Linked DNA regions of Homo sapiens: region 2 is linked to region 1. The links are contacts of gene promoters, found by promoter capture Hi-C in human tissues and cell types (Jung and others, 2019). All regions are on one chromosome and are shown on one strand. The core of a region is centred on a gene start or on the middle of the fragment in contact, and the rest is flanking DNA. Distances in the headings are between cores, read along the strand shown. Region 1 holds the start of PPP1R3G (protein phosphatase 1 regulatory subunit 3G). Region 2 overlaps FARS2 (phenylalanyl-tRNA synthetase 2, mitochondrial).

The links. The method cuts DNA at HindIII sites, captures the fragments that hold promoters and counts their contacts. A contact is called where the count stands out against the background at its distance.
Region 2: a fragment that was not itself captured here is called in contact with the fragment with the promoter of PPP1R3G in region 1 in 1 of the 25 tissues and cell types used here (lymphoblastoid cells).

Annotation. Positions count from the first base shown.
Region 1 is chr6:5,083,149-5,086,924 of GRCh38, forward strand. PPP1R3G (protein phosphatase 1 regulatory subunit 3G) reads left to right here and starts at 2,193. Exons shown (of 1, transcript NM_001145115.3): 1 at 2,193-3,776. The coding sequence starts at 2,338. The coding sequence ends at 3,414. All of the region lies in intron 3 of LYRM4-AS1 (LYRM4 antisense RNA 1), which reads left to right. It also overlaps a transcript of LYRM4 not described here. RefSeq lists silencers at 1,175-1,244, 1,275-1,554, 1,965-2,144, 2,395-2,494, 2,635-2,684 and 1 more and an enhancer at 2,475-3,164. The HindIII fragment of the contact is 9,723 bases long and covers 1-3,776 here.
Region 2 is chr6:5,416,418-5,420,193 of GRCh38, forward strand. All of the region lies in intron 3 of FARS2 (phenylalanyl-tRNA synthetase 2, mitochondrial), which reads left to right. Among named protein-coding and RNA genes, the nearest start is that of FARS2-AS1, 40 kb to the right of the region's middle. The HindIII fragment of the contact is 4,384 bases long and covers 1-3,776 here.

The DNA.
Region 1 (3,776 bases), core at 943-3,442:
AGCACCTCCCTCACCTCCTTCTCTGTCCTGGAGTGAGCATGTGCCCCCGTGAGGGTTGTAGCCCAAAGGGTCGCCACCACCTCAAAATCTCTTTGAAGTCTTATTTTATCTTTAAAATAGCTTGTGAATTTTGTATTTAACTCCATAATGTAGCAATGTGTATTTAAATGTAAAAGCAATGTCCTTCCCGAAATCAGAGTTGCTGCAGGAAGACAGGCCGTGTGCGCCTGGGGCCTCTTGGAGATGCCATGCCCAAGTCAAGACACAGTCATGGAATTCCACACTGGGCATAAAATGACCAGCAAGAGTCCAGCAAGGGGACCGGCAGGGCCCCCTTTACAGGACATCACTCCCAGCCCAGGCTTAGTAGTGATGGGGGAAATGTTTCCTCTAAGCTGCCTGGCTTCAAATCCCATGAAAGCCACCCTGTGGGGCCTTGGCGATGAGAAATCTTTCTGCAGTGTTGTGTCCTATATGTAGGCAGGAATGATGTGATTCCTATTTCATGGACAGGACATCCTGTAGGTGCTCAGTCAATCAATGTAAGCTCTTAACACGCTCCTCACCCACCATCTCTTTTGCCTGCCCTCTGCCAACATGGCTAAAACCCTGGCCCCTTTCAGTTCTGCCAAACCATGACATGTTTTAGTTATGAAGCCCCAATTAATTACGTTTCTTAATTAGTGGTTCTGTTTCTAGAATCCCCAACTTTCTATATAAGTAACTGAATACACATCCACATAGGTTTAAATACGGTCCCCAGAGCCCAGCATCAGCATCCCCTTGTTAGAAATACTTCCAGGCCCCAGCCCAAGCCCACTGAGTCACAAACGCTAGGGAGCTGGGAGCAGTGGGGGGCGCCTGTAATCCCAGCTACCTTAGAGGCTGAGGCGGGAGGACTGCTTGAGGCCGGGAATTTGAGACCAACCTGGGCAGCATAGCAAGACCCCTATCTCGAAAAAGTTAGAAAGAAGGAAACTCTGGGAGTGGGGCCCTGTGATGTGACAACGGGCCCCCGAGTGATGTCCGTGCATGCTGAAGTAGAATCACTGACTTAGATGGCCCTCAGGGTGGCCTTAAAACCAAAACAAGAAAAACACCACTTTTAGACGTTCCCCCAATCCCTAGGTACCACGACGCGCTTCCCCACCCCTCCCCGGCCTCAGGTTCGGGCCTTGGCCCCTGGCAAGGCCGGAGCAGCAGGGCGGTGACAGCGCAGTCCGGCGCGGGCCACGCCCCCACTCCCGGTGGGCGGGGAGGGTGCTTGGGGCGCTGGCGTCCGGTTGCGGTGGGAGGTGGTGCGTGCCGCGTGGGCGCCGGCCCCACGGGGCCCCCTCTCCGCCCTCCCTGCGGGATCCCGGGGCGCGGACTCGCGGGCGCGTCGGGCGGGACAGGGGGAGGGGCGGGACGTGCTCCCGGGCCTGGCGCGAATGGCCTCCGGCCGCTCTCGGCTGCGGGCCATGGCCGCTCCCCGGCGCGTCCCCACACGGTCCCCGCCCCAGTCTGGCCGCAGCCCACCCCGCGCCGCCACTGGGCAGATGGGGGCGGCGGCTCCTGCCTCCCGGCTTTCGGAAGAGCAGAGCGGAGCGCGCCTGACCGAGTCAGGCTTCCGAGTGGGATTGGAACCCGGGGCGCCCTGAAGTTTGGGGAAAGCAGGAGCAGAAGGGAAGGGATGCGCTCCCCGCTCTCCGGCGGCGCGGAATGGGCCTCCTTCCAGCCTCTGCGTAGGCAAGATTTCCCCAGTTGCGCGCTGCACCGGGGACTCCCCAGCCCGTGAGGCAGCCAAGAGGAGAGCGCTCAGTGACCCTCTGGGGGCAGAGCCGTCAGGCCAAGTTCATGGGCAGGAAGACTTTGTGCACGTGGGGGTCTCTGAAGGTTGAGCGCGAGCTCTGCACCCCCACTTCGAGGCACTCAAGAAGCGGAACAGACGCGAGCCCCGCCGGGGGTGCGGGTGAGGGCTGCAGGGAGCCCGCGAACGACAGAAAGTCGCCCCCCGCATTCCACCGGAGCACTCGGGAACACGGCTTCCAGGTGTCCCAGCGGCCGCGCCTCCCCGCCCCCGGCCCTCCCCCGTCGCGGGCAGGTTCAACCGGGAGGCGGCGTGGCCCCGGAGCCGGCCCCAGGCCCGCATCCTCCTCCCACTTCGCCCTGGGCAGCCGCAGCTAAAAGCCGGAGGCTCCAAAGTGGAACTACGTTGTCTTGTCGAGCCTGGGGCGACTCGCCTCGGGGAGGGCGAGCCTGAACTGCAGCCCTGCGCTCCTTCCACGGCCCGAGGAGTTAGTTAAGTCTCCAGAGGGGCCCGGTTCGGCCCGAGCAAGTCCAGGGGCGAACGGCGTCATGGAGCCCATAGGGGCGCGGCTAAGTTTGGAGGCGCCGGGACCAGCGCCCTTCCGAGAGGCCCCGCCGGCCGAGGAGCTGCCCGCCCCGGTGGTCCCCTGTGTGCAGGGTGGCGGCGACGGCGGTGGCGCTTCGGAGACCCCGAGTCCTGACGCTCAGCTAGGGGATAGGCCCCTGTCCCCGAAGGAAGAGGCCGCCCCCCAGGAGCAGGAGGAGCTGCTGGAATGCCGCCGCCGCTGCCGCGCGCGCTCCTTTTCCTTGCCCGCCGACCCCATCTTGCAGGCGGCCAAGTTCCTGCAGCAGCAGCAGCAACAGGCGGTGGCACTGGGCGGCGAGGGGGCGGAGGACGCACAGCTCGGCCCGGGCGGCTGCTGCGCCAAGTGCAAGAAGCGGGTGCAGTTCGCGGACACGCTGGGGCTAAGCCTGGCCAGCGTGAAGCACTTCAGCGAGGCGGAGGAGCCGCAGGTGCCGCCCGCCGTGCTCTCGCGCCTCCGAAGCTTCCCTATGCGTGCCGAGGACCTGGAGCAGCTCGGGGGGCTGCTGGCCGCGGCGGCAGTGGCCGCGCCCCTTTCAGCGCCGCCTTCCCGGCTCCGGCCGCTCTTCCAGCTCCCGGGGCCGAGCGCCGCGGCCGAGCGTCTGCAGCGGCAGCGCGTGTGCCTGGAGCGCGTGCAGTGCTCGACGGCCTCGGGCGCTGAGGTGAAGGGCTCCGGCCGGGTGCTCAGCTGCCCTGGGCCCAGGGCCGTGACCGTGCGCTACACCTTTACCGAGTGGCGCTCCTTCCTGGACGTGCCGGCTGAGCTGCAGCCCGAGCCGCTGGAGCCACAGCAGCCAGAGGCACCGTCTGGGGCCTCCGAGCCAGGGTCCGGGGATGCCAAGAAAGAGCCAGGCGCCGAGTGCTTCCACTTCTCGCTGTGCCTGCCCCCGGGCCTGCAGCCTGAGGACGAAGAGGACGCCGACGAGCGCGGCGTCGCGGTCCACTTCGCTGTCTGCTACCGCTGCGCGCAGGGCGAGTACTGGGACAACAACGCGGGCGCCAACTACACGCTGCGCTACGCGCGCCCTGCGGACGCGCTCTGAGCCTGGAGAGTTTCGAAGAGCCGTGGGGCGGGGTTGATTAGCACGTGGAGCTCGGGCTGCCGCCTCAAGGAACTTGCTGGGACGCTTTGCTGAGCGTGGCGAGTCTGGCGTGAGGGGCGCGTGGAGGGAAAGGAGGGAGACTTTGAACCGTCGACTCGCACCCCCGCAGACAAGTGAGCGAGCTTAGAGAGCCCGGGCAATGCTCCGAAAGCCTCTGACCTCAGTCTTCTCGTCCGTTTGACCTTCCTACAAGGCCTCTAGAATTCCCAGCCTGCGTCAGAATAGGAAGAAACTTCCAAGGCCCGGAGCAGCTGCCTCCAAGAAAAAGGCTCCCAACTCCCGGGCATGGTTCTAAGGCCTTG
Region 2 (3,776 bases), core at 453-2,952, 330 kb after region 1:
ACCATTGTCTGGAATCAATTAACCATGTATGTCTGGGGCTATTTCTGGACTCTCTATTCTGTTCCATGCATCTGTTATTTGTCTATCTTGACACAATACTTCACTGTCTTTATCACAGTAGCTTTATAATGCCTTAAAATCGGTTAAATTCTTGTAACTTTGTTCTTTTTTCAAAGTTATTTTAATTAGATTGTTTACATTTGATGTTATTATTGATGTTGTTGGATTGAAATGATCATTTTGCTATTTGCTTTCTATGAGTAACATTTTTTTTCTTTGTTCTCTTACTTTGTTTGGATTAATTGTATTTTTTATTATTCCATTTTATTTCCTTTGTCTTATGAGGGGTAACTTTTTGTTTTGTTATTGTAGCAGTTGCTTTAGGATTTACAGTTATCACAGTCTCACTTCACTTTGAGTGCTGTTACCCCACTTCTGTATAGCGTAAGAACAGCAGACTTCCCTGTTTCCCATCTTGGCCTTTGTGCCGTCACATATTTTAATTCTTATGTATACTATCAACTCCTAAATACGTTATGATTGTTTTTGCTTTGAATAGTTGATCAGCTTTTAAAGATATTTAAATAGTAAGAAAAGTCTTTATATCTCCTAGGTCCTTACCATCTTCAGTGCTCTTCATCTGGGTTCCCAACTGATATTTTCCTTCTGCACAGCAGAAGGTCTGCTTCTGCTAGTGATGAATTCTTTTGCATTTGTATGTCCATAAAGCTTTTATTTTGCCTTTATTTTTGAGATATTTTCACTGGGAAAAGAATTCTAGATTAATAGTTTTTTTTACCTCTGTGTATTTATTTTTGAGATAGGGTCTTGCTCTGTCACTTAGGCTGGAGTGCAATGGCGTGATCATGGCCCACTGCAGCCTCCAAGTCCTGGGCTCAAAGGATCCTTTTACTTCAGCCTCCTGAGGAGCTGGGACTACAGGTGTGCACCACCACACCCCGCTAACTTTTAAAATAAAAAAAAAATTGTAGAGAGATGGGGTGTCACCATGTTGCCCAGGCTGGTCTTGAACTCCTGGCCTCAAGTGATTCTCCTTCCTCGGCCTCCCAGACTGCTGGGATTACAGGTATGAGCCACTGTGCCCTGGCCCTTTTAGTTTTTTAGAGGTGATATTCCTAGATCTCTTCTCACTTGCCCTGTTTCCTGTGAGAAATCTGCTCTTAACTTTGCTTTTGTCTTTGTTTTTCTGTACATAATGTGTCTCTTCTCTCTGAGTCGTTTTGCAATGTTTTCTTTGTCACTGGTTTTAAGCAGTTTGATTATGATGTACATAGATACAGTTTTCTTCAGATTTCTTATGTTTGGAATTGGTTGAGCTTCTTGGATTTATATTTTTCGTGAAATCTGGAAAATTGTGGTCAATTATTTCTTCAGATACTTTCTGTTACTCTCCTCCTTTAGGTACTCCACTTGCATGTGTATGTGGCCACTTAAAACTTTTCCACTACTGGTGCTCTGTTCATTTTTCTTTCAGTGATTTTTTTTTCCTTCTATATTGCATTTTGGATAATTTCTATTGCTTTATCTTCAAGTTTACCAATATTTCTTCTACAGTGTCTAATTTTCTGTTAACTCCTTCCTGTGTATTTTTCATCTCATTCATTTGCTTCAGTTTGGATCTTTTTAATATCATCCCTGTTTCTACTTAACGTGTTTAGTCTTTCTTCTAGCTTTTTGAACATAACGAATATATAATACATATTTTAACACATTTTTTCCTACTAATTCTGACATCTGTCATTCCTTGGTGAATTGCTTTTGATTCTTCTGTACTTTGTATTATGTATTTTGTTTCTATTTTGCATGCCTGGTAATTTACTATAGGATATTGCCAAACATTGTTAATTTTACCTTCTGATGCATTGGATATTTTTTACCTTCCTAATATCCGCGAGCTTTATTCTGGGATTACTTAGAAACACTTTGATCCATTTAGGTCTTCTTTTTAAGCCTTACTAGGCAGGACCAGTATAGAGTTTCGTCTGGGGATAGTTTTGCCCACTACCTATGCGAGACCTGTCTTAGCTCTGTAACCGATAACCCGTGAATTATGAGGTTTTCCCCTTGGCTGTTGAGAACTGGCACTATTCCTGGTCCTGTGTGAGCTCCAACTTTATTCCCTCTAATCCTTTTGTGTGGTTTGTTCCCTGACCTCAGGTAGATTTTTCAACACACATGATCAGTGTTCAGTTGAATGCTGAAGGGGTTCTTCTGCAGATCTCCAGAGTTCTTCGCGCAGCTCTCTTCTCTCCTTTACTCTGCCCTGAGAATTCTAGCTATCCTGACTTGTCCAGACTCCCGGCTCTGTCTCCTCAAATCAAGGAGACTTTTGGGCTCTCCCATGTTCTCCTTAGGTCTCACCCCTCTGGGGGGTCTGTGTCCTTGGTCACCTGGTGTCCTCTGTTTTGAGTGGTGTGATTTTATATATTTGTCTTTTTATTATTATTATTATTATTATTAGTTTTTCATATGGAAGGGTAAAACTGGTTTATTATTCCATCCTGTCCAGATGTGGAAGTTTCTCTTTTTCATTTGAATCGTTTGGCTACTCCTTCTGGACCTTCCTTCCTGCAATTTTCTATTACATCTCATTCCCCTCTTCGCCTTCATTATATTCTTACATCTCTCTCATCACTTACTCTCTGTGTCTTTTTTGGTCTTCTTTTCTGATGCAGCTTAATGTTTGTGACAGGAACTCTTTGAAAGGGTGGCTGGTGTTTTCCTTCTCAGAGAAGAATTTGACTGGGAGATGGATACAATCCTAAAGATGCATTTTTAGATCTGTTTTACAAAACCAGAATTTTTATGAATTTTATTTTCTAGAACACATCAGTGAATTGTGCTTTCATGTATCTCTTAAGATATCTAAAACACACTTATTTTAAAGTCTCAGATTGTTTCATAAAAATAATCTCAACTGAGGTAAGTTAATGTTTGATTATTTGTTCTGCTGGCTGTATTACTTAGCATTAGATTTGTCCATATGTTTTAGAATTTTGGGTTGCAGGGTCATATTCAGAGGAAGGTTTTTTTGTTCTTTACCGTTTCTCTGTTTTCTTCGTTCCTGTCCTTCTCCCCCATCCCCCGTCTCTTACTATTCACCCTATAAGTGGATTTGCAGGTGATTCCACCCAATTCTCTAGGCTTGAAATCCAGAGTGAGATTTCCCAGGGATCCATCAGATGTCTAGCACCCATACAATGAGGGGATGGAGCTGATCCTAGGCCTATGGCTTGGATCCCTAATCTTAAAGCTCCTTAGATCTACAGCCCCATGCTGCATTTGGGTGACAGTATTTGACTTCCTTCTGGCACCGTCATGGAGCTTATCCCATCCCAGCCTCTGACTTGAAGCTTTTTGCCTCCCTCCTGCCCCAAGCCCACAGTGTGCCATCCTGCAGGAGGCAGGCTCCTGGTTCTTCTTGGTTGTGGACCCCAAGCCCAGCAGGCTCACTTTATCCTCTCTTCCTGTTTTGCTTCTGGCCTGTGGAGGTTTACATTTTGTATTAGTCCATTTTCACATTGCTGATAAAGACATACCCGAGACTGGAAAGAAAAACAGGTTTAATGGAGTTACAGTTCCACCTGGCTGGGGAGGCCTTACAATCGTGGCAGAAGGCGAAAGACACGTCTCACAAGGCAGCAGGCAAGAAAAGAGAGCTTGTGCAGGGAAACTCCCATTTTTAAAACCATCAACTCTTGTGAGACTTATTCACTGCAACAAGAACAGCATGAGAAAGACCTACCCCCATGATT